Regions from separate parts of the Homo sapiens genome. Here regions 2, 3 and 4 are each linked to region 1. The links are contacts of gene promoters, found by promoter capture Hi-C in blood cells and fetal thymus (Javierre and others, 2016). All regions are on one chromosome and are shown on one strand. Each heading gives the region's core, a stretch centred on a gene start or on the middle of the fragment in contact. The rest is flanking DNA. Distances are from core to core; before and after follow the strand shown.

What was found. Contacts are between HindIII fragments. The CHiCAGO score rates a contact against its expected background, and 5 or more counts as called.
Region 2: a contact is called between a fragment that was not itself captured here and the fragment with the promoter of CD1E in region 1, in 1 of 17 cell types (fetal thymus). The highest score is 9.0, in fetal thymus.
Region 3: a contact is called between a fragment that was not itself captured here and the fragment with the promoter of CD1E in region 1, in 1 of 17 cell types (fetal thymus). The highest score is 5.8, in fetal thymus.
Region 4: a fragment that was not itself captured here is called in contact with the fragment with the promoter of CD1E in region 1 in 1 of 17 cell types (fetal thymus); the score reaches 6.6 in fetal thymus.

The regions. Positions count from the first base shown.
Region 1 is chr1:158,350,338-158,355,982 of GRCh38, forward strand. CD1E (CD1e molecule) reads left to right here and starts at 3,557. Exons shown (of 6, transcript NM_030893.4): 1 at 3,557-3,709; 2 at 4,040-4,336; 3 at 4,963-5,232; 4 at 5,490-5,645. The coding sequence starts at 3,652. The HindIII fragment of the contact is 6,143 bases long and covers 1-4,307 here.
Region 2 is chr1:158,480,760-158,486,427 of GRCh38, forward strand. The region is part of intron 2 of LOC107985213 (a long non-coding RNA gene); the gene reads right to left. It overlaps OR10R2 (olfactory receptor family 10 subfamily R member 2), which reads left to right. Exons shown (of 2, transcript NM_001395749.1): 2 at 1-177. The coding sequence ends at 126. Among named protein-coding and RNA genes, the nearest start is that of OR10R2, 11 kb to the left of the region's middle. The HindIII fragment of the contact is 1,988 bases long and covers 2,554-4,541 here.
Region 3 is chr1:158,496,758-158,502,508 of GRCh38, forward strand. No RefSeq gene overlaps it. Among named protein-coding and RNA genes, the nearest start is that of OR10R2, 27 kb to the left of the region's middle. The HindIII fragment of the contact is 6,418 bases long and covers 1,060-5,751 here.
Region 4 is chr1:158,206,574-158,212,034 of GRCh38, forward strand. No RefSeq gene overlaps it. Among named protein-coding and RNA genes, the nearest start is that of CD1D, 28 kb to the left of the region's middle. The HindIII fragment of the contact is 2,234 bases long and covers 2,026-4,259 here.

The sequences.
Region 1 (5,645 bases), core at 2,307-4,806:
GGCACAATCTTGGCTCACTGCAACCTCTGCCTCCCAGGTTCAAGCGATTCTCTTGCCTCAGCTTCTCGAATAGCTGGGACCATAGGCACGTGCCACCACGCCCTGCTAATTTTTTTGTATTTTTAGTAGAGAGGGGTTTCACCGTGTTAGCCAGGATGGTCTCGATCTCCTGACCTCCTGATCTGCCTGCCTCGGCCTCCCAAAGTGCTGGGATTACAGGAGTGAGCCACTGTGCCTGGCCCACTGATGGAATTTTGTAAAGCAGGAAGGAAATAATTGTACCATATAATGTTACAAAAATTAAAATTAATATATATTTTTTCTTTGGAATTTATCTTCTGGATAATTTTAATTTAGAAGGAATTTCATTATTTTGTTAATGATTATGGGGTTGCTGTCAGACATTATTTCTACTTTGCTCAGTAATTTGCAGTTATCTGTGAGTTCTGTAGCCTCAAAATTAAAAACTAGGGTGTGGTTATCTTTACTTACATAAAAGTGCAATTTTTTGTGGAATAACAACATTGTTTTATTCTCTAAATATACTTTGCTTTATTTTACTTTGCAAATGATTTTAAAATTCTCCCTCTTTTTTTTTTTTTTGAAACAGAGTCACACTCTCCTGCCCAGGATGTAGTACAGTGGCACAATCTCAGTTCCCTGCAATCTCCACCTCCTAGGCTCAAGCAATTCTCCTGCCTCAGCCTCCTGAGTAGCTGGAATTACAGGCACACATCATGGCACCTGGCTAATTTTTACTTTTTTTGGTAGAGACAGGGTTTCGCCATGTTGGCAAGGCTGGTCTCGAATTCGCCTGCCTTGGCTTCCCAAAGTGCTGGGATTACGGGTGTGAGCCACCGTGCCTGGCCTGATTCAAAAATTCTAATGGCCGGGGCACGGTTGCTCACGCCTGTAATCTCAGCACTTTGGGAGGCCGAGGCGGGTGGATCACGAGGTCAGGAGATCGAGACCGTCTTGGTCAACATGAAGAAACCCTGTCTCTACTAAAAATACAAAAAATAGATGGTCATGGTGGCTCTTGCCTGTAATCCCAGCTGCTCAGGAGGCTGAGGCAGGAGAGTCGTTTGAACCAGGGATTCGGGGGTTGCAATGAGCCGAGATCCTGTGGCTGCACTGCAGCCTGGGCAACAGAGCAAGACAGCAAGACTCCGTCTCAGGAAAAAACAAAACAAAACAAAAATTCTAAGGAATACAGTTACTTGTAGTATTGATGTTTGGCATAGGTCATTCCAATCTTTTTATTATGTATTATTGTTTTTGTAGGTTATTATATATTCTCTTGAATATTTATCTTTGTTTACTGTTCATAATTTTATTATGAAACCAATTTTGGATTTACATAGCGATTTATAGATAGATTTACATAGCAACTTATAGCTTTGAATGTATTTGTAGAAAAGAAAGAGTATTGAAAATAAATGTAGACATTCTACTCAGGAAACAAGGAAACTTTTTTTAATCTTTCTTTAACCTTAGAATTTAGAAATGATAATAAGATGAAACTAGGTTTGGACCTTTTTCTTTTGTTTTTTTGTTTGCAGTTTTTTTTTCTTTTTTTAATTATTTTTATTTATTTATTTATTTTTTATTATTATACTTTAAGTTCTAGGGTACATGTGCACAACGTGAAGGTTTGTTACATATGTATACATGTGTCGTGTTGGTGTGCTGCACCCATTAACTCGTCATTTACATTAGGTATATCTCTTAATGCTATCCCTCCCCCCTCCCCCCACCCCACAACAGGCCCCGGTGTGTGATGTTCCTCTTCCTGTGTCCATGTGTTCTCATTGTTCAATTCCCACCTATGAGTGAGAACATGCGGTGTTTGGTTTTTTGTCCTTGTGATAGTTTGCTGAGAATGATGGTTTCCAGCTTCATCCATGTCCCTACAAAGGACATGAACTCATCATTTTTTATGGCTGCATAGTATTTCATGGTGTATATGTGCCACATTTTCTTAATCCAGTCTATCATTGTTGGACATTTGGGTTGGTTCCAAGTCTTTGTTATTGTGAATAGTGCCACAATAAACATACGTGTGCATGTGTCTTTATAGCAACATGATTTATAATCCTTTGTGTATATACCCAGTAATGGGATGGCTGGGTCAAATGGTATTTCTAGTTCTAGATCCCTGAGGAATCGCCACCCTGACTTCCACAATGGTTGAACTAGTTTACAGTCCCACCAACAGTGTAAAAGTGTTCCTATTTCTCCACATCCTCTCCAGCACCTCTCCAGCACAGAAAGAGTATTGAAAATAAATGTAGATATTCTACTCAGGAAACAAGGAAACTTTTTATCTTTCTTTTAACTTAGAATTTAGAAATGATAATAAGATGAAACTAGGTTTGGACCTTTTTCAATAATTCTGACCACCGTTCAGTAAATTTACTGTATAAGAAAAGTAGAGGTTTGGGGTTGAATTTTGTTTTATTTTTTCCCAAAGATGTCTATCTCTGATATCTTAGGGCCTGGCAATTGTTTTTGGTCATAGGTGGGCTCTGAATAAATGTCAGTTGAACAAATATATAAAAACCAAACAAAGGAATGTTATTTCAACTGCCTTCAGAGTGTCACAACAAATATCAATGAAAAAGAAACAAAAATAAAGACTCAATTAATTCTCCAGTGAACACTTCAGTCCTCTAAAGGTACTTCCCTGTGTCCACCCAAACTGCTCTCTAACCGAACGCAAGCAAGGGGACTCCAATGCTCTCAGGCCATGAACTAATGAGGAGCTTCATGCCTGCCCTCAGTCTTTCTTCATACCCAGGGCAAAGCTGGCCCACAGACTTCCAGACATGCTTTCTTCGTTTGGGTAGAGATGGGGATCCAAGTCCCCTATGTATTTCCTCCAGAGCCACCTGTAAAACATGGGTGAAATCTACCTGCCCTCTAGCTCACCACTTCCAGGTCAAGCCCACTCATGGACCACTTTAACAGTGACAGTTGGCTTGACTGGGGAAACTGAAAAAAAGGAGCTTTCTTTAGATTTTCTGATAATCTGCATTGCCATTGCTGCTCCTTTTTCAGCAGCACAGAGAGTTGGATTATGGAGGGTTGCCTGCTTATTATGCAGCTACATCCAGGATGCTGAGTGTCTTCTGATCATGATCAAGAGCAGAGTGAAGAGATACAGGCGGAGGAGAGGATCACAGAGAGGTAGAAGTGGGAGACTGGTGGATAGGTCACTAGGCACCACTGAGTGACTACCATCACTTCTCACAGATTAGATTATTGACAAGCCAAGTATGGATTTGATTTCTACAAGGCCAAAAGCTACTCCATCTTCTAGCCAGACCACAGACTTTGTTTTAAGCCAGGACTCGTTTTCCAGCAGTTAGTGCAATTAGGGAGGTTGGGAGGATGTACACAAGAGCAGGGAGAAAATCTGGAGCCAGACAGTGAGAGAGGCAGAGGGGAAATGAAAAACCCCGTGGGAGGCTGCAGCAAAGCGAGGCAGTGTGGCTTCTCTGACAGGGAAGTCAGCAGAGGGAGAGGTTTGTCTGTCTGTACAGCAAGGGAAGTCAGACGAGAGTGCAAGAGGGTGTGGAGAGGGGTACTGATATCTGAATTATTAGGGCAGGTGTCCTGCCAAGGAATCCCTCCTTTAACAGAGCTTCAATGCTGCTCCTGTTCCTCCTCTTCGAGGGTCTCTGCTGTCCTGGGGAAAATACAGCAGGTAAGAAGAGTGCAGGTGGAAAGATACCTATGGTAGGGCACCAGAGGGCTGAGAGGAAGCTCTGGGGAGGTCCTGGGGGAAGGGAGCAGTACTCTTCTAGGATGCCCTTGGAATATGCCTTTCAGGCTAGTTCCAGGCAGAGAATTCTTGCTCTCAGTCTCAGTTTTTGTCTCTGATTTTGGAGAAAGGAAGCTGGCCCCACAGGAAAAGGGTATTGGAGTATGTACAAGCTACCTAACTGTCTCTCATCTCTGGGTTCCTTTTTTCCCTTTGGCATCACTTTTCCCATCCCTTTACATTCTCTCTACTTGTCATTTCCCTCTCTCTCAGCTCCCCAGGCTCTACAATCCTATCATCTAGCAGCAGAGGAGCAGCTGTCCTTCCGCATGCTCCAAACTTCCTCCTTTGCCAACCACAGCTGGGCACACAGTGAGGGCTCAGGATGGCTGGGTGACCTGCAGACTCATGGCTGGGACACTGTCTTGGGCACCATCCGCTTTCTGAAGCCCTGGTCCCATGGAAACTTCAGCAAGCAGGAGCTGAAAAACTTACAGTCACTGTTCCAGTTATACTTCCATAGTTTTATCCAGATAGTGCAAGCTTCTGCTGGTCAATTTCAGCTTGAATGTAAGTTCGTTGCTCTAAGCTGATAATTTGCCTGGGAACACCAACTATTTTCCAAAGTGGAAGATAGTATATAGACTCTGACCATCATTTAACCTTACTAACCTTGTTCCCCACTCTCTGACTCCCACTCCCTCCTCTGCTTCACCCTTCACCACCACCCACACTCCACCATATACACAAAAGGGCCTGCATGTACATATCTCAACATGAATATAGCTTCATGTCTGGCTCTTTGGAATGATTGTCTCCTCTGGATCTTCTGCCCCTCATTCCTGCCCTCAGACTCAGCCTTTCTCAACCCTCTTTCTGCCCTTCTTTATCCTTTGCCTGAGTGTTGACATGGACTGGCCTGTACCTAACCACTTTCACGTGAATTATTTATGACCAATCTCCTATCTTCCTGATAGCCTTCCCATCTACCACTTTCCCATTAGTTATTTCAAAGTATCTTTATTATCTTCAAATTTTCTTCCCACAAATTTTCTTCCCCTTTGCCAGTAAACTCTAGTCTCCATATGATTTCCCAGCAAATTTTTCTTCCCTTGAATCTCTTTACTGTCTAAATTGTTTGTTTTTCTTCCTTGTCATTCTTTCCATAATGATCTCTCTTCCCTGTCCACTCTCAGACCCCTTCGAGATCCAGATATTAGCTGGCTGTAGAATGAATGCCCCACAAATCTTCTTAAATATGGCATATCAAGGGTCAGATTTCCTGAGTTTCCAAGGAATTTCCTGGGAGCCATCTCCAGGAGCAGGGATCCGGGCCCAGAACATCTGTAAAGTGCTCAATCGCTACCTAGATATTAAGGAAATACTGCAAAGCCTTCTTGGTCACACCTGCCCTCGATTTCTAGCGGGGCTCATGGAAGCAGGGGAGTCAGAACTGAAACGGAAAGGTGAGCCCAACTCTCTCTCTCCCCTCTTGTTCCTAGTACTATAACTCTCATATTTGAATTTGCCTCTCATCATCATTTTGAAAGACATAGTGAGAGACTAGAGAATGAGATGTGTGGGTTCAGGACTGTTTCTTAGACAAGAGAAAGAAGTGATTACTAAATCACTCTTAGTATTATTACAAAGGCACCTGAGTCTCTGAGCTCTGGCCTGGGGTGCCCTTCAAAATTCCATTTTTTTTCTATCTTCTTCTTCCTAGTGAAGCCAGAGGCCTGGCTGTCCTGTGGCCCCAGTCCTGGCCCTGGCCGTCTGCAGCTTGTGTGCCATGTCTCAGGATTCTACCCAAAGCCCGTGTGGGTGATGTGGATGCGGGGTGAGCAGGAGCAGCGGGGCACTCAGCGAGGGGACGTCCTGC
Region 2 (5,668 bases), core at 2,298-4,797, 130 kb after region 1:
ACGGTGACATACACGATTGTCACTCCATTACTAAACCCCATGGTTTATAGCCTCAGAAACAAGGATGTCCAACTTGCTATCAGAAAAGTGTTGGGCAAGAAAGGTTCTCTAAAACTATATAATTGAAATATTATTACATTTTAGATTTCTTAATAAATAATGCCTTTTTATCACAAGCATATTATAACTGTAACAAATTCATTGAAATAATAGGAGTCCTTAAGAGGCATGTCATAAAATATGTTTTTCTCCTTACAGTCTCTTTAAATTTAATCCACAAGCTAATGTTTTTCATTTCCTCATATGGAATCTCAGGGAACTCCTCAAATTTAAATGCCTAGTCCACTGGGATAACTGAAAATTTAAACTTAATTTAAAGCTAAAATTTCTGCCTTTTCTGGGTGTTGAATTTTGAACTGGGAAGCCTTCATTGGTACCAGTGAAGGTTGACTTATGTATTAGCTCTTTCAGCAAACACTTTTCTCTCTACTTATTTCAGTGACTGACCCTTCAAGCATTATACTGGGGAGGGAGGGATAGGTGGAGGGAACATCTTGCTTCATTGCCACAGTCATGCTCTGGCAATACTGCTTTCAGATGTTGCACACTGAGTCTTTCTTATGCAGGGAGCTTTCATGGCTGCTGAAATAATTCCTTACTCGGAACTTCTACCACATTTCCTGTGATATGGTTGAATCTGCCTCTAGCTGACAGCTTGTAAAGTTTCCTCCTAATTCTGAGGTTTCAACATTTATCTGGGTCCCATGTTTTCTAAAGGTCTTATTGGACAAAATGTTATTTTTAAGTGATTCCACAATGACAATTTCTCCTAAATGGTCAATATGTGATCCAAAAGAAAATTTTGACAATCCTTGCTACCCATAGTCAGTTGAAGTGCTGACATATTTCTCTGTGTACTGGTATTTCAGGCCAGTAACTGCAGATTTCTACATTCAGATTTCTCAGGTGAGCTCAGATAGCAATCCACTGTGTTCCTTTATCTCCAGCAGATATATATCAATATCTTGAAGCAGTTTTCTACTCTTGGGGAGAGATAAAACATTAAGAAAGTCAAGAGCTTCCTCCAAAGATTATATTTCCACCCCTTTTTTCTCAAAATTTTTATTTTTTAAGAGCAGTTCACATATTTTATTCTCTCAGCTTTTGTGCCTCAACTGAAACTAAGAAAAACTGCCTTTTATGACATTGCTGCATGTTTTTCCTATAGTTTAAGGTGTTATGATGGTGTTTATTGGTAAATATTTAGTTCATAAAGTTACCATCTGTATACAGAGTCAAGTAGTTGGCCTGACCAGTGGTATAGCCGTAAATAGTCACCTTAATCACTCTAGATCACATTTTGCAGCACATGGTTTTTTGAGAATCTGTTGAAAGCTATGTATCTAATGCATGAAACTCTCCTCATGCACATATACAGGAAAAAAAAAACTTGCTTACAATCTGAGGAGTTTACATAGTATACAAAGTCCATCCCTAAATCCAATTCATGGGAGTACTTGTTCATGGCCAAAGTCATATAATCTATTTAAATTTGCTTTCATCATTTCACCTTTTCTTTTTTACTTTTAACAATTTGTTGTAACTTTTTTTTACCTGATTGAAAGGTTATTTATATCATCATGTCACAGAGTTTACATGTTTTATAATTTTATTATAACAGCAGGATAGATTAATAGACATCCCTGCTGCTATCTTCTAGATCCCTTTAATGGATTTAATTTCCTTTTTAATATCAAATTTCAGAAAAATTTACCGCAAGGTAGGCAGAGAAACTATCCTGGTCAAGATAGCATATTCAATTAACTAGAGTATTGCTATTTTATGTCACATTCGTTAAAAATTTAGGAGAAGGTACTGTGCAGTCTAACATTTGAGGTTTTTAAATACAGAATATGTATACATTAGGAAAACTAAATTCTATACTGTGAAAAGAAATGAAAAGTAAGCAGGAAGTTTCAGAAATAAACTACACTTAACATCTTGATCAACTTTCATGAAAAGTAGCTGATTTTTGTGTCCAACACTAATGTATAGAATATTTTCTGCAGCATGCCGACATGAATGTGATTCAAAACATTTTTTTCTATCTTACTATATGGCTCTAGTTTCCTACCATCCTGGCATATAGGTCTCTTGAATTCCTTTTTTTATTAGTAGAAACAAGAAAGAGTTAAAATTATGTTTAAAAGATATTATAATAATAAACAGTAGAATAATACTTCTACAGGAAAATAATTTGCAGTGACAAAATGGCCTTGTTTGCCATCATCATACTATAGCCATCATTAATTAAAAAGGCAGTAGAAGATAAACATAAATTTGCCATTCTGTGCACCACATTTCTTTACTTACAGCTTATAAAGTGGGATCCTATGGAGAATGGTCCTGTACCGGCCTAAGAATCAAAAAAGGTCTTATTTGAAAAGATTATCTCCTTCTTTGTCCAATGTCTACCATCAAAGTTTTTTTTATTTTCACCTGTTTCATGAAGTATTACCTGATTTCCATTCTTCAAAACACCATAGCATTGTAAGCTTTACTTATACTTCTTACTGAGCTCTGACATATTGAGCTGATTATGTACATATCTTATTTTCTCTAATGGACAATCAACAACGTGAAAGGAAGTAATTTATTATACCGATACATTAACTCCTCCTAAATGTCTTTTATATCCCTGACATTCAGGAGATAACTAATACATGTCTCTTAACTTTAATTGAATAAATGACTTCTTGGTCTAGCTAAGAAAAACATCTGAAACTACATGTGAAAGTGTAGCAATATTTATGTCCCCCATAACAGTAATTAAAAATAACAATGACAATGATAATTTATTTTGCTCATTAATCTCTTAAATGGGAGAGGGCTTATAAGATTGGCTTGTCTTAACTCCATACAATGTCAACTGAGCTGCTCAACTAGAATTGAGGGACCCACTTCCATTTGGCTCATTTACACGGCTGGCAAAATGATGCTGATTTGTAGTGGAGCTGAGTCAGGGCTATAGGTTGTGAGAGTCAGTATCTCTCCATGTGGCCCTTTTCATGGGGTTCTATAAACTTTCTCACAACATCATGACTGGTTTCAAAGACTAAACATTCCAAGAAACAGAAAGAGGAAGCTGCTAGTCTTTTAAGGCATAATACCAGCAGGTTGTCTGCTCCTGACACCCAAAAAGACAATGATGTGATGGGCATAGGAATAGCAATGGACATTCCCTTGTGAAAAAGGAGGAAATTAGACACATCACAGTCATTGGTCCATAGAAATTCTGAAATTCATCTGGACACTGTTGCCAGTCCTATTTTCTGGGAATGAATTCCATGACTCTTAGATCTAACCTGTGATGCCATTTCCCCACTTTCTGATCATCCTTTTTTATCTGCAAGACATAGCTACAATTTGCAGACATGTCATTTCTTAGTCTGATACCTCCATGGAAGAAGTTGAGGGTCCAAAGGTCTATTCATTTCTGTTTGCTCTGTAGCCTTTAGCACATGTTGATAGAATGCCTTTTTAAAACTTGGTGAGTTTCTTATGTTTCAGTTTATAAATTAATTCCATTAGATAAAAGTCACATCCATATTCATTTCTTTATTATGGGTCACTTGTGAGGTAGCAGTATTAATAACTGCTGTATGGCAATTCCCTTAAGATTCTTAAAAAGACTTATTGCTTAACTTTAAGGAGTCAGGCCCTTAGGATATTTATAAATCTTGTTGGGTATAGCCTAAAATATTTCTGAGTTCTAACAAAAAGTATTACAGCTACATTCTTAAGAGGTTTACCCTGAGGCATTGGTTTCCTGATAGCACCTTGGATTTGATTTCTTCCTTGAAGCCATTTTGTACCTTGAGAGTCTTTGTTGAGAGAGACTGTGCATGAGAAACATCTTTATTTGCAAACCCAACAAGTTTTGTTTCTTTCTGTTTCCTCTAAATTCTCAGAAACTTAAGAAACTTTAAAAAATTATGTACTTTTAAATTGACAAATAGTCATTGTTCATATTCCTTAGGTGCATAGTAATATTCTGATATAAATAATGTTATAGGGATCAGATCAAGGTAATTAGCATATCATCATCTCAAACATTTATCATTTCTTCATGTTGGGAATGTTCAACACCCTCCTTCTGGCAATTTGAATCTATACATTACTGTTAACTATAGTCATCCTACAGTAGCAAAGAACACTGTAACTTATTCCTTTATCTAGCTGTAATTTTGTATCCTTTAGCAAATCTCCACCTATCCTTCCCTTTTCTCTACTATTCCCTTCCTCTAGTATCCTGCTGTCTACTCTCTTTTCATATTTTATCATTGGTTGGAATTTTCTATAGTCTTCCTAGAAATTTACCCAGGAAGATAATGAGATTACTAAATAGTCTATTTTCCAGGCTGTAGCATGTGGTCCTGCTGCCAAACTTTAGAGCAATGGATAATAAGTATCCATGTTTTACCTAAGTATGATAACAGTTTCCTCTCTGTCCTTCAAATATTTTTCTCTCTGTGCTTCAAAGCTTTACCAAGAGTTGCCTTATGATCCTTTCACCTTTTAGTAAGAGACTCCTTAAGTCCTTATGGATTATTTATACCACCAATTGCAAAATTAATGCCAAATGTTTTAAATGTTGATTATAACAGCACCCTGCCTTTAGATACCAAATTCTGTTCTCATTATTTACTGCTGCATAATCAACTCTCTACAACTTTAGTTGCTTAAATGAGCTGTAATTATTTTGCACACAAGTCTGCAATTTTGGCAGGGCTCAGTGGGGACAGCTGGAATTTGTTCTTTGTCCCAGCAGGTTGGATGATTCAATTGGGGCTGAAGGATTTACTTTCAAGATTGCTCACTTATGTGCCTGTTTTATTCGTGTTAGCTATTGGTTGTTTGCTCAGCTGGGGCTATTGGCCAGGAGCCTTGGTTTTTTACCATATAGATTCTCCAAGGGCTGTTTGGGCTTCCTCAAAACATGGTTACTAGGGTACAAAAGTAGATGATTCAACACTCCATAAGTAGCAGCTACAAGACTTTAGAGACTAGGGTTAATAAACGGATACAGTCTTACATTTACTATAATTTATTTGTCAAAGTAGTCACTCTTCCTATCTGGATTCAGGGGAAGGAGGAAGCCACCAAAAGTTCCTGTCTGGGTTAATCACTTGGGCTTTTCTCTTGTTTTCTCATTGCTGCAGCATCTTTTTTTAAAAAAAATTAATTTAATTTAAAGTTCTGGGATCCATGTGCAGGATGTGCAGGTTTGTTACATAGGTAAACATGTGTCATGGTGGTGTGCTGCACCTATCAACTCATCGCCTAGGTATTAAGCCCAGCTGCATTAGCTATTTATCCTGATGCTCTCCCTTCCCCTGCCCCTCAACCATAGGCCCCAGTATGTGTTATTTCCCTCCCTGTGTCCATGTATTCTCATTGTTCAGCTCTGACTTATAAGTGAGAACATGCGGGACATGACTTATACGAGAGCAGTTCACGTGAGCACCTTAGAGAGACGTCCATGCATGTCTAGCATTTGACCCATTTCCAGCCCAAGTGGATGGACTCACTGTCAGAAAGAATCGATATGTGAGCTGAAATGGGGAGAAAGCTGATGGGCTTTGTGAAAACCTACATGAAGGCATTG
Region 3 (5,751 bases), core at 3,019-5,518, 150 kb after region 1:
ACCATTTCTAATACTATACTTAGAGTTCCTTGTGTGTATTTTGTTAATTAGATTTTTAAAAAACAGGTCATGAGGGTTTTAAATTTCCCTTTTACATTCACTTTTTTCCTTATTTTTAAATTAAGGAATGGTTTATATTTAAAAATTTAAGTATTTTAAGTATCAGTTATTTGAGGTTTTACAAATACATTCACCCATTTAACCACCCCCACCAGTCAAGAAATATGATATTTTCATCACATCCAAAAGTTATCTCATGTGAATTTCCAGGTGACTCCCTACCCAGAGACAACACAGAATTGATTTTTATCAATATAGTTCAGTTTGCACTTCTTGAATTTGAGATATATGTAATATTATAGTAAGTACTCTTGTGTGTCTAACTTATTTCAGAAAACTTAATGCTTATGAGATTCATCTATCTTACTGCATGTAAAATAGTTTGTCTTTTTATTGATGTATTCACCTGAATGGATATGCAAAAACATATTTATTCATTTATCTGTTGATAGACATTTGGTTCATTCTTATTATTGGCTGTTATAAATAAACCTGCCATGAACATATTTTGAACAAATCTTCTGTGGACATTTGTCCTGTCTCTTACATGTTTAGGAGTAGCACTCCTGGGGTCATAAGGTAGGTACACATTTAACTCCATAATATGATTCCCAAATGTTTTCCGGTATGGGTACACCACATAACTTTCCTACCAGCTGCTTCACATTCTTTCCAACTTTTGGCACTGCCTGTTTTATGTTCCTGTATTTTTAATATATTAATAATTCTAGTGAGGGTAAGTAGTACCTCATTTAGTTTTATTTTGTATTAGCCTGATATCTAATTATGTTGAACATTATTTTATCATTTGCCTATTGACCATTCCATTTTAGTAAATTACCCTAGTCTTCTGCTCATAAGATTAGTTTAAAATTATTGAATCCTATTATTTATATATTCTGAATTAAGTTTGTTTGGAACACATATGTACTATGAATATTGTCCCCAAGTCTGTGGCTTGCATTTCTATTATTTAAATAGTGTCTTTTAATGAGGGCAAGCTTTATTGAATTTTGATTAATTAAATTTACAATTGTTTTCTTTTATATTTAGTACTTCTTGTGTCTTGTCTAATAAATGTTTTCCTAAACTGAGATTGAAGAAATCTTCCCTTATATTTGTGCCTAGAGCTTTGTAGTATTAGCTCATGTGTGTGGTGCAGGTTCATTTATGTTTTATGCCTTAATCAAATATATTGAGACATAATTTATATACAATAAAAGACACCAATTTTAAGTGTATAGTTTGATGTTTTGACGTATATGTAGAAACATGTAATCACCACCATGATCAAGATATAGAACATTTCTTTGCATGTAAGACAGAAACAAAGGGTTATCAGTGACAGTTTCTACCCTACATCAGGCTCAGCCTCCAATGTGTTTCTGCATTATATTTGTATTGTACTTTATTACTTATTCATACAGATAAGTAATTTCAAGTTAAAAGAGAATTATTTATTTTTTATATTATCCCTTCTTGCAATGCTTTTCAATTAAAATCAGATATAGGCAAATCTTTAATCCCAGACTTACCCAAAGCAACTTTTCTGCTGATTTCAAATGCGTTAAAAGTTGTACAACAGAATATCCAGCCTGTATTTGTTTTAAAATACTTAAAAAAAATCAAGAAATATTTATTAAGCTACACTTTAAAATACCATTTATATTAGTATAAAGATGAATAAATAGATTAATGGAACAAAACAGAACATTCAGAAATAGAAACACATATGTATAGTTAATTTTCTACAAGGCTCTCAAGGCAATTTATTATAAAAATGATATTGAAAATGAAAAAAGATATAGAACATTTCCATTACCCCTAAATTTTCTCACATGCCCCATCCCATTGTGTCCCCTATACCACCATCAGCCGCAGGAAACCAATGATTTGCTTTCTATTGCCAGAATTTAGTTTGACAATAAAGAATCTTATCAAAATAAAATAACAATTTGCTTTCTAACTTCTTATCACTAAGCATACTTTTGAGGTTTATCCGTTATGTGTGTGACTTCGCAGTTCATTCTTTTTGTACCATTGTGTATATATACACAATGGTTTTATTTTCTTACACTCTCAACAGAAACGTATGACAGTTACCAGTTGCTTAACATTCTCAACAAAATGTGTTAGTCTTAATTTCATACATTAAGTAGATGCATAATAGTATCCAATTGTGGTTAGAATTAAAAGTTTTTTTTGATGACTGAAGACACTGAATATATTTTTTTGTGTGTATATTGGTCATCTACATATTTTTTAGTTGAGCGTCTTTTCAGATCTTTTGTCCATTCCTCAGTTAGAGGCATATTTTCTTCTTTCCAATATTTTAATTAGTTCCTTTGTCTTCATAATTGAAATGTAAGAGTTCTTTATGTTTTCCAGGTATATATATTTTTGTTACTTGTATATTACGCAAATATTTTCACTATATTGTAACTTGCTTTTAATTTTCTACCATGTCTTTTGAAGAGCAGAAGTTTCCTTTGGTTTTGATAAAGTCCAACTTATTGACTTTGACTTTTATAGTTCAAGTGTTTTCTGTCATACTTAATAAGTTTCTGAAAAATTCAAGCTCACTAAGGTTCTATCTAATGTTCTTTTTAATAATATTAGTTCTTACAAGCAGGATGTGATTCATCTCTAGTTAATTTTTGTAAATGGTGTGAAAAAATTTCAAGATTCTTTTCTATCCAAATGCATTATTATTGGAAAGAGTATTCTTCTACCATTAAATTGCCTTGAGGCTTTGTAGAAAATTAATTATACATATGTGTTTCTATTTCTGAGTGTTCTGTTTTGTTCCATTAATCTATTTGTTCATCTTTATACTAATACTAAAAGTATAGCTTAATAAACATTTCTTGAAATCAATGTAATGCCTTCTGGATTCTGCCCTCTTAGTCCTCATGGGAAGCCATCCATAAGGAAGAGCTATACTTTAGAACTTGCTGGAAAACCACTCTCTGAAGTACTCTGTGGGTGGGGGGCATCTATGGGAGGATGCTTCTGTTTGCAACCTTCTGGCAAAATACCTTTGATGATGGTACTGCCTGGGAAGTAGCACTACTGGGCGTCCTACTTGTTACTAGACTTCACACACACAGCATGTCCAGGCAGATGAAAGCAGCCAGAAATGGGAAGAGAACTCCGTTTTAACTTCAGTGTCCCTTCACGCCTTCTACAGAAGAGCTTAACATCATGTCTGCTGGTAAAGGAGAAACATTCCAGTAACACAATCAGGACAAGTAAAGGTAGATTTGGAGCTAAAAGGCAATTACATTCTTAATTTTCTTTCTTTTTAAAATTTTGACAGAATTTAGATTTATTCATCCCTATGAGCCCTAGAATTATGTTAATGTCAGGAGATGTTTATAAAATATACTCCACTAAAATTTTTCTGAAAATTCTAACAAGGACATTTGAAACAAGGGTTACATAGGTCAATTACAATTTCACTCAGAAAAAACAATAGCACTCTTGATTTATTCAGTAGTTGTTTTTTAATATAGCATGAGTCACAAATAAGCTAGTTTTTCAACTAGGTCAACACTGACTTTTTTTGTGTGTGATAAGAACATTTAACATGAATCCACCCCCTGATCAAAAGGTATTGGTAACTGTAATCATATATTATGCCATTCTTGCATTGCTATAAAGAAATACCTGAGATTGGGTAATTTATAAAGAAAAGTGGTTTTGTTGGCTCATGATTTGCAGAATTTACAGGAAGCATGGTGCTGGCATCCACTTGGCTTCTGGTGAAGGCTCAGGGAACTTTCAATCATGGTGGAAGGTGAAGCAGGAGCGGGCACATCACATGACCAGAACAGGAGAGAGAGAGTTGGGGGAAGGTGCTGCAAATTTTGAAATGGCAAGATCTTGTGAGAACTTACTCACTATCATAAAAATAGACCAAGTCATGCGAAGTTCACCCCCATGACCGAAACACCTCCCACCTTCAGCACTGGTGATTACAATTCAACGTAAGATTTGTGTGGGGACAAATATCCAAACTATATCAATATTTCTCCGGCTCCTCCCAAATCTATGTCCTTCTCACATTGCAAAATATATTTATGCCTTCCTAAGAGTCCTCCAAAGTTTTAACTTGTTCCAGTGTTAACTCACAAGTCCGAAGTCCAGAGTCTCATCTTTGACAAGGAAAGTCCCTTTCATTCATGAACCTATAAAATCAAAACCAAGTTATTTACTTCCAAGATACAATAGGGATACAGGTATTGGGTAAACGTTGCTATCCTAAAAGAAAGAAATTGGCCAAAAAAATAGGGGCTATAGGCCCCAAGCAAGTCCTAAAGCCAGGAGGGCAGTCATTAAATCTTAAAGCTCCAAAATAATATCCTTTGACTCCATATTCTACATCCAGGTCACACTGCTGCAAGCTCCTCAGAGAGGTGTCAGTCATGGCTCTCAAGGCTTAGGGCAGCTGTATCCCTATGGCTTTGCAGGGTTGAATACCCATGGCTGTTTCCACGGGTTGGTGTTGAGTGTTCTTGGCTTTTCCAGGTGCAGAGGGCAAGCTGACAGTGGATCTTCCTTTCTGGGGTCTGGAGGATGGCGGTCCCCTTCTCACAGCTCCACTAGGCAGTGCCCCAGTGGGAACTCTGGGGCGGGGGGCAAACCCACATTTCCCCTCTGCATTGCCATAGTAGAGGTTCCCTGTGGGGTTCCCCACCCCTGCAGCAGGCCTCTGTCTGGGCACTCAGGCTTTTCCATATGTCCTCTGAAATCTAGGCAGATGGTGCAAATTCTCATTCACTCTGAACTCTGTGTGCCTACAGGCTTAAAATCATGTGCAAATTGCCAAGGCTTACAGTGGCTTGAACTCTCCAAAGTAGCATGTTGAGCAGTACCTGGGCCCCTTTGAGCCCCAGTTGAAGCTGGAGCAGCAGGATGCAGGGAGCAGTGTCATGAAGCTGTGTGTGTGGCAGTAGGGATTCTGGGCCTTTAATGGAAGGGGCTGCCACAGAGGTCTCTGAGATGCCTTCAAGGCTTTTCCCCCATTGTCTTGACTATCAGCACTTGGCTCCTTCATAGGTATGCAAATTTCTTTTTTTTTCTTTTTTTTTTTTTTTTTTTGAGATGGAGTCTTGCTCTGTCACCCAGGCTGGAGTGCAGTGGCATGATCTCGGCTCACTGCAAGCTATGCCTCCCAGGTTCACGCCATTCTCCCGCCTCAGCCAGAGTAGCTGGGACTACAGGCGCCCACCACCGCACCCAGCTAATTTTTTTTTTGTATTTTTAGTAGAGATGGGGTTTCACCATGTTAGCCAGGACAGTCTCGATCTACTGACCTTGTGATCCGTCCACCTCAGCCTCCCAAAGTGCTGGGATTACAGGCGTGAGCCACCACGCCTGACCCACTTAAGTATGCAAATTTCTTTAGTAAAGTGGTTGTTCCACAACCTGCTTGAATTCTTCTCCCCTCAAGAGCTTTTTCTTCCTTTGCCACATTGCCAGGCTGCAGATTTCTCAAACTTTTATTCTCTACTTTCCTTTTAAATATAAGTTTCAGCTTTAAGGTATTCCTTTGTGCCCACATCTGAGTTAGGTTGTTAGAAGCAGCCAGGCCACATCTTGAATGCTTGGCTGCTTAGAAATTTCCTTCATCAGATACCCTAAATTATCATTTCAAAACTTTAACTTCCGCAGATCCCTAGGGCATGA
Region 4 (5,461 bases), core at 1,893-4,392, 140 kb before region 1:
CCTCTTTTTTTTTTTTAGATGGAGTCTTGCTCTGTTGCCCAGGCTGAAGCATAGTGACACAATCTCAGCTCACTATAACTTCTGCCTCCCAGGTTCAAGTGATTCTCCTGCCTCAGCCTTCTGAGTAGCTGGAATTACAGACACCTGCCACCACGCCCAGCTAATTTTTGTATTATTAGTAGAGACCAGGTTTTTCCATGTTGGCCAGGCTGGTCTCAAACTCTTGCCCTCAAGTGATCCGCCTGCCTCTGCCTCCCAAAGTGCTGGGATTCCAGGTGTGAACCACCACGCCCGGCCTCCTGTTTCATTTTTTATTTTATTTATTTGAGTCTTCTTTCTTGCTCTTTTTTTTTTGTTTTTGTTTTTTTTTTTTTGCTTAGTATAGCTAAGGGTTTGTCAATTTTGTTTAGCTTTCCAAAAAACCAACTCTTAGTTTAGTTGACCTTATCTATTGTTTTTCTAGGTGTTACTCTGATTTTTGTTATTCTTTCCTTCTGCTAACTTTGGGCTTATTTTGTTCTTCTTTTTCCAGTTTCCTTGAGGTGTAGTGTTAGGTTGTTTATTTGAGATCTTTCTTCTTTTTGGATGCAGGAATTTATTCCTTTAAACCTCCTTCTTAGAACTCTGTTTTGCTGCATCCTACACATTTTGGTATGTTATGTTGCCATTTTCATTTGCCTCAAGATATTTTTATTTTTATTTTTATTTTATTTTTTTTTTTTGAGACGGAGTCTCGCTCTTTCACCCAGGCTGGACTGCAGTGGCGCTGTCTTGGCTCACTGCAAGCTCCGCCTCCCGGGTTCACGCCATTCTCCTGCCTCAGCCTCCCAAGTAGCTGGGACTACAGGCGCCCGCTACCACGCCCAGCTAATTTTTTTTTGTATTTTTAGTAGAGACGGGGTTTCACCGTGTTAGCCAGGATGGTCTCGATCTCCTGACCTCGTGATCCGCCCGCCTCGGCCTCCCAAAGTGCTGGGATTACAGGCGTGAGCCACCGCGCCCGGCCGCCTCAAGATATTTTTAAATTTTCTTCTTAATTTCTTCTTTGACCCAATAGTTATTCCAGAGCATAAGGTTTAATTTCCACATATTTGTTAATTTTCCATAATTTATTCTGTTATTGCTTTCTAGTTTTATTCTGTTGTAGCCAAAAAGATAATTGTTATAATTTCAATCTTCTTAAATTTATTAAGACTTCTTTTGTGGCCTGGCATATAATCTATTCTGGAGAATTTTCTATATGTATTTGAAAATAATATGTATTTCGTTGCTGTTGGGGGGAATGTTCTATATATTTCTGCTAGGTCTATTTGGTCTAAAGTGTAGTTCAAGTCCAGTGTTTCCTTATTATTGTTTTATGTCTGGATGGTATGGCTATTGTTGAAAGTGGGTTATTGAAATCTTCCACTACTATTGTGTTGCAGTCTGTGTCTCCTTTTAAATCTATTAATGTTTGCTTTACACATTTAGTTGCTCCAATGTTGGGTGCATATATATTTACAATTGTTATATCCTTAAGGTGAATCAATCCCTTTATCACTCTATAATGACCTTCTTTGTCTCTCTTCATAGTTTTTTTGTTACCTAAGGTCTATTTTGGCCAAAATAAGTATAGCTACTTATGCTGTCCTGTGATTTCCATTTGCATGGAATATCTTTTTTCATCCCTTTACTTTCAGTCTATAAGTGTCCTTTAAGGTGAAGCAAATCCCTTCTAGGAAACATATTGTTGGGTAGTTTTTTTTTTTTTTAATCCACTAAGCCAGTCTATATGTTTTAAATGGGAAATTGGATCTACTTACATTCAAAGTTATTATTGGTAGGTTAAGACTTATTGCTGCCATTTTGTTAATGGTTTTCTGGTTGGTTGTAATGTCTAGCAATTTGAGATTTGATGCTAAACATTATGAATTTTGTGTTGTTAAGCTCAAGATTTTGTTTTCTTATTTTAAAGTGTTGGACTTTGTTATGGCATGCTGTTAAATTATTTAAGGATCAGATTGAGCTTTACAAGGCTTGTTTTGAAGCTTTATTAGGGTAGGTGTAAAATAGTCTATTTTGAGGCTATGTCATCATATTACAAGTCATTATGATCTTGGAGTTATTATTGAATGCCCTGGCTATTCCACTAAGACTCCCCATTCTAATTATTCAGAATTCAAAAATTTTCCTACTCTGTGTGAGTTCAGGGGATTTTGATTTTACAGCTCATGAAACCTTAGTCATTCTTTGCCATGCCTTGTGAAATTTTGTAGTATGTGTGGACAGCTTTGTATTTGTCAACAGACTCAAGGGAAGTCCTATGCAGTCTTTGTGTACCTAAGTGCCCCTTTTCTAGTACATTGTTTTACAAATGACAGCCACCACAGCCTCCCCAAACTCCCTCTCTATCTCCTTAACTCAGCATGCATGTCATGCTCTCTTTGAGACTCTTTGTCCTCCAACATAGTAGTCTGGAAAGTGCATCTGTGCATTGAACTACAGCTGTCACATGGCTGATTTTGTTTGTTTCTATTCGCTAATGGATCATGGTTAATATCTGAAACCAGTTGTTTCATATTTTTTGCCATTTCCTAGTTGTTTATAGTGGGAAGTTAAGTCCAGGTCTAATTAGTTCATCATGGCTGTAAGCAGAATTCTGCATAAACTTTATAGGAGTAATTGGTGGCCAAAAAATCCTTTAGTTTTAAAAGCAACTATTTTTATCTTTTCTGTAGCTTTTAAATTCTCCTTTTTCTTAGCCATGTGATACTAAACTCTTGTGGTTTGAGTCTTTAAAGAGATATATATTTTGTCCTCTCAATTAAGGGGAAATATGACATTGGGCTTTATGATGGCTTCAGTGATTGTTGTGCTCATGCATCCAAAGAAACGTGAATTTCTCATCCCTATCCAATGATGGGTATTTATATACAGGTACCTGCTGCTTCATTGTGGATGAAAACTGGAATTCATATGTGAAAAGGAAAGCGAATGAAGAAGGTAGAAAGTGAGAGGGAGAGGGAGAGAGATGGTTTAGTGGAAGAATTCGGAATTTGTGTGACCAAACATATTGAACTTTGGTTCTTGACCTTTCATATGGGAATTTGTCAGTAGAGTGGAGGCAAAGAAAAGAAAGAGAAATCTGCTGTACTAGCTAAGACATATATTCCATTAAGAATAGAGTTTTGGTCCTTGTAAATTCATACATCTTTATATTCTCATATATTTTCATTTTGTTTTTCCTTTCTAGTTTTTCTGTAACTCTCATCAAATATCCTCAAATTTTATCTTATTTTATTTCAATAGTTTTTGGGTAATAGGTGGTTTTTGGTTACATGAATAAATTCTTTAATGGTGATTTCTGAGATTTTGGTGCACTTGTCACCTGAACAGTGTACACTGTACTCATTATGTAGTCTTTTATCTCTCAGCCTGTTCCCACCCTTCCCCTCAAGTTCCCAAAGTCCATCATATCATTCTTATGCCTTTGCATCCTCATAGCTTAGCTCCCACTTATAAGTGAGAACACACAATGTTTGGTTTTTCATTCCTGAGTTACTTCACTTAGAATAATGGTCTCCAACTCCATCAAGGTTCGTGCAAAGGCCATTATATCATTTCATTTTATGGCTGAGTAGTACTCCATGGTGCATATATACCACATTTTCTTTATCTACTTGTTGGTTGATGGGTATTTAGGTTGATTCCATGTTTTTTCAATTGAGAATTGTGCTGCTATAAACCTGTTCATGTACGTGTCTTTTTTCTATAATGACTTCTTTTCCTTTGGGCAGATACCCAGTAGTGGGATTGCTGGATTGAATGGTGTTTCTACTTTTAGTTCTTTAAGAAATCTCCATACTGTTTTCCAATAGTGGTTGTACTAATTTACATTTCCACCAGCAGTGTAAAAGTGTACCGTTTTCAACACATCCATGCTGACATCTAATTTTTTTTTATTTTAAAATTATGGCCATTCTTGCAGGAGTAAGGTGGTATCTTATTATGGTTTTAATTTGCATTTCCCTGATCATTGGTGATGTTGAGTATTTTTTCATATGTTTATTGGCTGTTTTTATATCTTCTTCTGATAATTGTCTATTCATGTCCATTGCCCACTTTTTGATGGGATTATTTGTTTTCTTTCTTGCTGATTTGTTTGCATTCCTTGTAGATTCTGGGTATTAGTCCTTTGTCAGCTGCATAATCTATGAATATTTTCTCCCACTTTGTGGGTTGTCTGTTTACTCTGCTGATTATTTCTTTTGTTGTGCAGAAGCTTTTTGGCTTAATTATATCCCTTCTATTTATTATTGTTTTTGTTGCATTTGATTTTAGCTTCTTAGTCATGAATTCTTTGCTTAAGCCGATGTCTGATTTTATCTTTTAGAGTTTTTCTGATTTTATCTTATAGAGTTTTTATGTTTTCAGGTCTTCTATTTAAGTCTTTGATCCGTCTTGAGTTGATTTTTGTATAAGGTGAGAGATGAGGATCCAATTTTATTCTTCTACATGTGGCTTGCCAGTTATCTTAGCACCATTTCTTCAATAGGATGTCCTTTCCCTACTTTGTGATTTTGTATGCTTTGTCAAAGATCAGTTGGTAGTAAGTATTTGGCTTTATTTCTGGGTTCTCTATTCTGCGCCATTGGTCTACATGCCTATTTTTATACTGATACCATGCTTTTTTGGTAACTATAGTTATAGTATTGTAGTGTAATTTGAAGTCAGGTAATGTTATGGCCCCAAATTTGTTCTTTTTGCTTAGTATTGCTTTGGCTATGCAGGCTTATTTTTAGTTCCATATGAATTTTAGGATTTTTTTTTCTAGTTCTGTGAAGAGGGGTGATGGTACTTTGATGGGAATTACATTGAATCTGTAGATTGCTTTTGGCAGTTTGGTCATTTTCACAATATTGATTCTACCCATTCATGAGCCTGGGATGTGTTACCATTTGTCTGTGTCATTTGTGATTTCTTTCAGCAGCATTTTGTAGTCTTCCTTGCAGAGATCTTTCACCTCCTTGGCTAAACATATTTCTAAGTATTTTATTTTATTTTTTGTAGCTGTCGTAAAAGGGATTGAATTTTTTAGTTGATTCTCAGCTTGGTCATTGTTGGTATATAACAGTGCTACTGATTTGTGTACATTGATTTTGTATTCTGAGACAATAGTGTATTCATTTATCAGATCTAGAAGTTTTTTGATGAGTCTTTAGTATTTTCTAGGTCTATGATCATATAATTGGCAAATAGTGACAGCTTGACTTTCTCTTTCTGTTTTGGATGCCCTTTATTTCTTTCTCTCATGTGATTGCTCTGGCTAGGACTTTGAGTGCTATGTAGAATAGAAGTGGTGAAAGTGGGCATCCTTGTCTTGTTCCAGTTCTCAAGGGGAATGCTTTCAACTTTTCCCCATTCAGTATGATGTTGGCTGTGGGCTTGTCATAGATGGCTTTTATTACTTTATGTCCCTTAC